Regions from separate parts of the Homo sapiens genome. Here region 1 is linked to region 2. Evidence: promoter capture Hi-C in 16 types of primary human blood cells and fetal thymus (Javierre and others, 2016). All regions are on one chromosome and are shown on one strand. The core of a region is centred on a gene start or on the middle of the fragment in contact, and the rest is flanking DNA. Distances in the headings are between cores, read along the strand shown.

What was found. Contacts are between HindIII fragments. The CHiCAGO score rates a contact against its expected background, and 5 or more counts as called.
Region 1: a fragment that was not itself captured here is called in contact with the fragment with the promoter of TMEM254 in region 2 in 2 of 17 cell types (non-activated CD4 T cells and naive CD8 T cells); the score reaches 6.1 in non-activated CD4 T cells.

The regions. Positions count from the first base shown.
Region 1 is chr10:78,044,632-78,048,970 of GRCh38, reverse strand. It overlaps a transcript of RPS24 not described here. Among named protein-coding and RNA genes, the nearest start is that of RPS24, 13 kb to the right of the region's middle. RefSeq lists an enhancer at 1,342-1,401. The HindIII fragment of the contact is 1,419 bases long and covers 1,431-2,849 here.
Region 2 is chr10:80,077,237-80,082,107 of GRCh38, reverse strand. It overlaps TMEM254 (transmembrane protein 254), which reads right to left and starts at 3,443. Exons shown (of 4, transcript NM_025125.4): 1 at 3,322-3,443; 2 at 164-267. The coding sequence starts at 3,408. TMEM254-AS1 (TMEM254 antisense RNA 1) reads left to right here and starts at 2,915. Exons shown (of 4, transcript NR_027432.1): 1 at 2,915-3,381. The HindIII fragment of the contact is 2,319 bases long and covers 1,953-4,271 here.

The DNA.
Region 1 (4,339 bases), core at 891-3,390, 2.0 Mb after region 2:
GAGACATCATGTTTAACTTGTTTCCTCCACCAAGGACAGCTGCAGTTAACAATGTTTGCCTATGGGTTGGGCAATTTTTTTTTTTTTTTTTTTTTTGAGATGGACTCTCGCTCTGTCGCCCAGGCTGGAGTGCAGTGGTGCAATCGCGGCTCACTGCAACCTCCCTCTCCCAGGTTCAAGCGATTCTTCTGCCTCAGCCTCCTGAGCAGCTGGGACCACAGGTGCATGCCCCCATGCCCGGCTAATTTTTGTGTTTTTAGTAGAGACGGGGTTTCACCATATTGACCAAGCTGGTCTCGAACTCCTGACCTTGTGATCTGCCCATCTTGGCCTCCCAACGTGATTACAGGCGTGAGCCACCGCACGCGGCTGGGTTGGGCAATTTCTAACCAGACTCTCTGAATATCATCATCGACGGTGGGAGCCAGCAGAGGGCTGGACCACTCTTTTGAATCCCCTTATAACCCAGGGATGAGCACATCTATAGCGCTCTGAAAAGGCAGTTCTGGAGATTTCCTGCCCAGGCAGAGCAGTGGCTCAGCTGGGTGAGCAGTCACCGAGAGTATAGGATGCCAATCCCTGGATTAACGAGGTGAATGCCAAAGACCCTCCGAGGCAATGTATTTTTGGAAGAAATACACACTGCAGCAGAAAAGAGAACATGGTATAAATTTTCCTTCTTCCAAACAGTGCAGAATAGAAACCTATAAAAGCAAATTCTGGATGTCTGAAGATATGGACTTTTTAAAAAATCTTGTTTGAGAGATTCCACCTTACTGACTTGCACCATATCCCTGGAAATGCTTCCTTAAGTGGCTACTGGAGATGGATGTCATGTAGCAGGGTTTACAGATCCCCTGCAATCCGAGGTCCTTGAAAAGCACAAGGCAGTCTCTTCCTCAACTCCCAGGGCAGAATTTTATAGTGGAAAGAGATGTTGACAGCCACTTTCTCAGCACCACTCTCTCATCCTACAGTGTAGGAAACTGAGACCCAGAGGAGAAAGGGGTCTTGCCAGAGATCTTAAAGTGTGGTGGGGCAGAGCTAAGGCTTGAAAACAGGTCTTGGACCCAGCACTGTGGCCCCGGACCCATGCTTGTCAAAGAATAGGACAGAGGCATAGCACTGTAGGCAGAAGGCTGAAGCAGAATCGGGCTGCTGGGGTTCCCAGCCTTCGGCCCCCACCTCCCCCAATAGAAACCGCAAGCTGCCTGGCTGGGCAGCTACAAAAGGGGGAATGCTGTTTGCACAGGATCTGCAGAGACCTCGCAGCACGGATGGGTAGACATCACCATGCACATATGAACAGCAGAAAGCCCTCCAGGTTCAGCTTCCCTACGAGGGCCGAATCCTATAAACAAGATTACCACCCCCATTAGACCTTCTCTGAGAAGAAAGAGTGACCTCTCCAGTTGATCTGGCATCAAGCTTTTTTCATGCTTCCACAAGGGTAGCGGTCTTGACAACAAAGCAGACCGCTTCCACGTCTGTGCCCACAGTGCCCCCTTGTGGGAGTCTGCATAGTGCATCACACGTCTTTATTTCACCAAGTGAAAAGGCAGGGATGGGGCAGTCTACAGCACTGTCCTACCGGGTCTCCACAGCTGTCCCCCTCTGGAATATCCTCCCCTTCCCTAAGCTCAGTGGTTCTCAAACTTTAGCATGCATCTGAATCACCTGGAGAGCTTATCAAAACACAGGTTCTGGCTGGACGCGGTGGCTCACACCTATAATCCCAGCACTTTTGGAGGCCGAGGCCAGCGGATCACCTGACGTCAGGAGTTCAAGACCAGCCAGACCAACATGGTGAAATCCCATCTCTACTAAAAAGTACAAAAAAAAAAAAAATTAGCCAGGCGTGGTGGCAGGCACCAGTAGTCCCAGCTACTCAGGAAGCTGAGGTGGAGAATCGCACCCAGGAGGCGGAGGTTGCAGTGAAGCAAGATCACGCCACTGCACTCCAGCCTGGGCAACTCAAAAAAAAAAACAGGTTACCTGGCCCCACCCACAGCTTCTGATTCAGTAATTCTAGGGTGGAGCCCAAGAAATTGAATTTCTAGCAAGTTCCCTGGTGACACTGCTGCTGCTGTCCAGGACCACACCTGGAGAATCGCTGCCTCAGCTAATCACCTCCACCCATTTAAGGCTCAGGACCATTTCTAGCTCCTTGGCAAGATGTTCCACAAATGCCCCCAGGCTTATCATAGGATGCCATAGTTGTGTAACTTTAACCAAGTTCCTTAACCTCTTTGAGCCTCAATTTCCTCATCTATAAAATGGGGGTAATAGTACTTCCCTCCGAGTGCAGGTAAATGAGGCCAGGTGCAGTGGATCATGCCTGTAATCCCAGCACTTTGGGAGGCTGAGGCAGGTGGGTCACCTGAGGTCTGGAGTTCAAGACCAGCCTGGCCAACATGGAGAAACCCTGTCTCTACTATACAAAAATTAGCCAGGTGTGGTGGTACACACCTGTAATCCCAGCTACTATGGAGGCTGAGGCAGGAGAATCACTTGAACCCAGAAGGTGGAGGTTGCAGTGAGCTGAGATTGCGCCACTGGTGCAATCCAGAGCTCCAGCCTGGGTGACAGAGCGAGACTCATTCTCAAAAAAAAAAAAAAAAAAAGGTAAATGAGATAATTTGTGCAAGACTTAGCTCAGTACCTGGCACATGGTAAACAATAAATGTTAGCTATTCTGTGGTCATTAATTAGCAATAGTATTACTGTTCATCTGCCAGCTTCTTGAGGGCAGAGACAGTATTCCCATTAGAGACAGAATTCTCAGAGGCAGAACGGATCTTAGAGAAACTTCAGTCCAGCTTCCCAAGCCTGAGCTCACCTGGGAAGCTTCAGTCCAGTTTCCTGAAGCAGCCTCACCTGGGAAGCTATTAAAACATCAGGTGCTTGGGCGCTACCCAGATCTACTAACTCTGAAAACTGGGGCAAGAGGCTGGGCATTTGTTGTTTTTGAGACAGAGCCTCGCTCTGTCACCCAGGCTGGAGTGCAGTGGCATGGTCTCGGCTCACTGCAACCTCCGCCTCCTGGGTTCAAGCAATTCTCGTGCCTCCACCTCCTGAGTAATTGAGATTACAGGCACGCACCACCACGCCCAGCTAATTTTTGTATTTTTAGTAGAGATGTTTCACCATGTTGGCCAGGCTGGTCTCGAACTCCTGACGTCAAGTGATCCACCCGCCTCAGCCTCCCAAAGTGCCGGGATTACAGGTATAAGCCACCACACCCAGCCAGCATTTGTATTTTTAACAAGCCCCCAGCCTGGCCAACATGGTGAAACCCCATCTCTACTAAAAATACAAAAAATTACCCAAGCATGGTGGCAGGCGCCTGTAGTTCCAGCTACTCAGAAGACTGAGGCAGGAGAATCGCTTGAACTCAGGAGGCAGAGGTTGCAGTGAGCCAAAACAGTGCCACTGCACCCCAGCCTGGGTGACAAAGCAACACTCCATCTCACAAAAAGAAAAAAAGAAAGCCCCCACCTGCCAGGTTTCGGAATTACTCATCTAGCCCGGATAGCAGACAGACACAGGGAGGGAAATAGAAGCCCAGAAAAGGGAAGTCTTTTGCCCATCCATGGCCCCAGCTGATTGTAAGCTGAGTGGAGATCAGGAACTGTGACTCCTGATTCCTGATCTGGTCCCTTTTTCCGAGTTATTAATACTTGGGGCCAGGCGCGGTGCCTCACGACGGTAATCCCAGCACTTTGGGAGGCGGGGTGGGCAGATCACCTGAGGTCAGGAGTTCAAGACCAGCCTGACCAACATGGAAAAACTCCGTCTCTACTACAAAATACAAAATTAGCCAGGTATGGTGGCACATGCCTGTAATCCCAGCTACTCGGGAAGCTGAGGCAGAGAATTGCTTGAACCCAGGAGGCGGAGGTTGCAGTGAGCTGAGGTCGTGCCATTGCACTCCAGCCGGGGCAACAAGAGTGAAACTCCATCTCAAAAAAATACGATAAATACTTGGATGCCATCTCATCGACCCATAACCTTCTACATAAATTCCCTCTCCAATATGCATGATGAGCAGCCAGAGCGTTGCCAAAGTATTTCCTGTGTGGAGGAACTCGGCATGTGAAAAGAACACACAATCCACTGCAGAACATCTAATTCTCCAACGTTTTATTTTCTTTAACCAAAACACTGAACAAGTGAAATCCTTAGCTTGGCATACAAGATCCTCCCTGATTTATTCTCCGCTGACCTCTCCAGCTTCGTTTCTTACCAGGACCTCACCTGTACCCTCTCATCCAGACTGTGGGCACTGGGAGGCAGGTCTCATTTCTGCCTCCCCTCAACATCTGGCATGCGGGAAGTT
Region 2 (4,871 bases), core at 2,194-4,693:
TAGTTATCTGCTGATGAAATCTAACACAGCAATCTCAAAAAGAAAAGTGCCTTAAGGTGAACCGACACTACTCTTAGATACCAAAAGGCAGCTGCAGGCCTTCCAGGTTTCCCATGAGACCAGAGCTCCAGTGTCCACAGTCCACTTGTGCAGCTCTCCTTACCCATTGCACAGGAGGGTGTGATGGTGGTCCACCAAGTACTGAGTGAAGGGGCCCAGGGGCCCAAGGTTCTGATAAGGGATACTCTGAGGCCAGAAGACAACCCACTGAAAGAGAAGCAGAGACACAGAATACCTATTAGGTCACTTAAAACCTGTTTTTTGTTTTTGTTTTTGAGAAAGGCTGTGAAACAGTAAAAAAATTACCACAGACCGAAGAAACTCTGAACAGTCATTTGGGTCTCCATTCTTGGCTTCTATTTTCTTTCTTTCTTTTTTTTTTGACAGGGTCTCACTCCGCTGCTGGGGCTGGAGTGCAGTGGCATGATCATGACTCACTGCAGCCTCCACCATCTGGGCTCAATCCATCCTCCCACCTCAGCCTCCCAAGTAGATGGGACTACACGTGTGTGCCACCATGCCCAGCTACTTTTAAAAATTGTATATAGAGATGGGGTCTCACTATGTTGCCCAGGATGGTTTCCAACTCCAGGGCTCAAGCAATTCTCCAATCTTGGCCTCCCAAAGTGCTGGGATTACAGGCATGACCTACTGTGCCAGGATGACTTCTATTTTCTAAAAGCAACTCTACTGGGAGACTTATGCTGAGGAAAGTATGTGGTTATCAGACTCAGTGCCCACGGTGGATGACTCTTAAAGTCTTTTTTTCTTCCTTTTCTTCTTTTGTTTTCTTTGTAGAGAAGGGATCTCGCTTTGTCACCCAGGCTTGAGTGCAGTGGCCTGATCACGGCTCACTGCACCCTTGACTTCCCGGGCTCAAGCGATCCTCCCAACTCAGCTTCCCCAAGTAGCTGGAATACAGGCATGGCTACCACGACTGACTAATTTATTTATTTATTTATTTATTTTAGATGGAGTTTCACTCTGTCGCTTAGGCTGGAGTGCAGTGGCACGATCTCGGCTCTCTGTAACCTCCGCCTCGCGGATTCAAACGACTCTCCTGTCTCAGCCTCCAGAGTAGCTGGGACTACAGGTGCATGCCACCACGCCCAGCTAATTTTTGTATTTTTAATACAGACAGAGTTTCACCATGTTGGCCAGGCTGATCTCCAACTCCTGACATCAGGTGATCCGCCCTTCTCGGCTTCTCAAAGTGCTGGGATTACAGGTGTGAGCCACTGCCCATGGCTAATTTTGTGTGTGTGTGTGTGTGTAGAGATGAGGTTTTGCCATGTTGCCCAGGATGGTCTCGAACTCCTGGGCTCAAGCGATTTGCCCGCCTCGGCCTCCCAAAGTGCTGGGATTACAGGGGTGAACCACCATGCCTGGCTGACTCCTATTAATACATTCCACCAAAACCATTATTTTATAAAAGATATTAGCAAATTTTGAGTTTATGTGCTTTGGCTAGTTTCTTTACTGCAGAAACTGGCTCCAGCCAAACCTCTGTTTAATTTAGAATTCCTTTCTCGGCTTTCCCTTTTTGTACGGCTAAAACTGAGAATGATCCACTGCATAGAGATGGAAAATAAGTGAGATAAGGTTGTGACATTTTAATAGCAACTGCTTAATCACATAAATTTTTCGTAATCTTAACTTTCAGCCTCTGTATTGTAACTTCTGTCAGCTAAGACTTTTCTGAGAATAACTCAACAGTTTCAAAATGTATTGTCCCATTCAAATCTTTGTCAAGAGCAGTACTACCTCTCTCACGATGTTGTTTCACATCTGAAAGTTAAATAATGCACAAATATCACTGCATCCTCCCAAACCAAAGGGAAAGGGGAGCATCTGCCAGCTCCACAAGATCCCAATTTGAAGTCCCCAAAGCTTTCCTCCAACTATATTCTAACTAGTCACAGACACTAAATCGTAGAACAGAAATGCACCTTTGAAAATTTTCAGTTCAACACCTCCATTGTACATATGGGGAAATCAGGACATAGGTTGTCAGATTTGACACCAACAAACAACACTGTGGACAAGACAAATCTCCAATCTCCAGGATCTATTGGTATACCCAAATAGCTTCGCCTTCCTTCAAAATTTTACCACCTTATCACTTGACGTTAGGAGTTCGAGGCCAGCCTCACCAATACCCATGTCTACTAAAAACACAAAAAAATAGCTGGGCATAGTGTAATCCCAGCTACAGGTAAAGACATGAGAATCGCTTGAACCTGGGAAGCAGAGGTTGCAGTGAGCCGAGATCGCCCCACTGCACTCCAGCCTGGGTGACAGAGCGAGACTCCGTCTCAAAAAAACACAAAACTACCACCTTAGCCCCCAACCTACTTTTCCACGCATCTTTCTCGTTATCCTTTAAACAGATTATTTCTCAGCCAAACAAACGTCGCTCTTTTTCTAGGTACAGCTTTCTTCTTGCTTCCACACCTATGTCAGAACAGTTATAGCCTCTTTATCCTCCCTTACCACTTAAATCCTACCCATCCTTTAGATTTATCCCCGTTTTCCAAACAATTCCTATTGGCTCAAACATTCTGCTTCGGAAGCCCTATTCTGACTTGGCAGGCCTATGGCAGTCTGTTAACTTGACTTTCCGCTTCGTGAGAGGCTTAGGCTCGGATAACCCGTTAGTAACCATGCAGAGGTGAGGACCCAAAGACAGGAACACTAGAAAGCAGAAACTATCCTAAGAGCCCACCGAATTTCCGCTTACATGAGTAACCGAGACAACCGTCAGATGCGCGTGCGCACAGGCCCCGTTCCCAGAGCTCCCCTCGCCCTACGAGGGCCCGGCGGGCCAAAACAGAGGCCCGCCCCGCCCCACCCCACGCCTCACCGCGAAGTAGCCCAGCCCCAGGACTGTGACCAGAGAGGGCAAGGGTCTTGCTGGACGGAAATAGGCGGTAGCCGCATTGCTGGCCTCCGACTTCACCATCCTCTTGAAAAACCCAGACACAGAGTTGGCTGGGAGCTCCCCAGCCGTCCCCGCCCCCATATAAGAAAAGCCTGGCTAGCCGGTTTCTCAGGGCCCTGGGCGCCCGCCCAAGACCCTGGCGGACCAGTATGCTTGCTCTCATTGCGGAGTCTGGTCCCCTCCCCTCCGCTCCTAGCGCGCGGGAGTCGGGATTGTGCTTGCACGACTTCCCCCGGCCCGCGGCCTGTGAGCCCAGGTCCTGGGGTGAACCGAGCGCTCGCTCGTTCGTCAGACCGTAGCGCTCCAGCGGCTGTCCTTACTGTGTAGTAGCCAAAGCTGAGGGTGATGACTGTGAACCAGAACAGACTGCCTCGCTGAAAGTAGGTCGCGCCGGCTGCCGTAGCCATGGCTGCAACACCTCCCCGGGAGCGCGCTTCAGGACACCGTCGAGCGCGAGCGCGGAGGCAGGGCCGGGGCCGGCCCGCGCTCCCTCGCCATCCCCGCAGGGAGAAGATGGTGCTGGTTGGGAAGTCCCTGAGAGCGAGTCTCCCTGTCTGGCCCCAGTACAGGGGCCTTGGAATCACACCTGGGCTCAGGTCTGGAGGGCTGGTCATCATCTTGTAGGGGAGACACTCCTGTCACTTTTCTGGGTTTAAGATAAAGATGTTCGGGCTGGCGCGGTGGCGTGTCCCTGTAATCTCAGCACGTTGGGAGGCTGAGGTAGAAAGATCCCTTGAGCCCAGGAGTTTGAGACCAGCCCGGGTAACATAGCTAGACTCTGTCTCGAATGAATGAATGAATGAATGAGGTGTTGGAATAAATTCCAGCAATTTGGGAGGCCGAGTCGGGCAGATCACTTGAGGTCAGGAGTTTGAGACCAGCGTGGTCAACATGGTGAAACCCCGTCTGTACTAAAAATACAAAAAATTTGCTGGGCGCGGTGGTGCCTGCCTGTAGTCCCAGCAACTCCAGAGGCTGAGACAAGACTCTCTTGAACCTGAGAGGTGCAGGTTGCAGTGGGCCCAGATCACGCCACTGCACTCCAGCCTGGGCAACACAGCAAGACCCTGTCTCAAAAAAAAAAAAAAAAGATGGTGTTTTACTAAGAGTCTAATTTTTGAAGTTCTCTGTGCTGTGCACCTTGAGAAATAATGCTGTCCTCATTAGTTAAGATGTTTGGAACTATACAGCACCATGGTTATGAGCAGGGACTGTGAAACAGGCTGCCTGGATTTAAGTCCTGGCTCTGTCTCGGCTATTTGTGTAAGCTTAGATTAATTACTTAGCCCGGCTGTGTCTTAGTTTCTGTATCTGTAACATGAGGATATGCCAGTTTTGGGAACCTCAGGGTTTTTAGGGTGGGTTAAATGAGTTGATATCTGTAAAGAAAGCACAGCAGTGTCTGGCCCATAGTGCTTTGTAAGTGTGGGTGATTATCAATACTGCTGAGCCTTTAGCATGTGTGCCAGGCCCTGTGCGAACTGTTGTATCATCAATGAGCTGTGGGAGGTATATGCAGCTGAAGTGTCTGATTAAACACTATTTAATCATAGAAATAGAAAATCATAGAAATAGAAAAACTATTTCACCTGGGCCTTAAAAATGGGTTACTGGCCAAGCGCAGTGGCTCAAGCCTATAATCCTGGCACTTTTGGAGGCCGAGGTGGGTGGATCGCTCAGGAGTTCGAGACCACCCTGGAGAACATGGTGAAACCCTGTCTCTACTAAAATACAAAAAATTAGCTGGGGGTGGTGGCGCGTGTCTATAGTCCCAACTACTTGGGAGGCTGAGGCACGAGAATTGCTTGAGCACCGGAGGCGGAGGTTGCAGTGAGCCGAGATCCAATCACTGCACTTCAGCTTGGGCTAT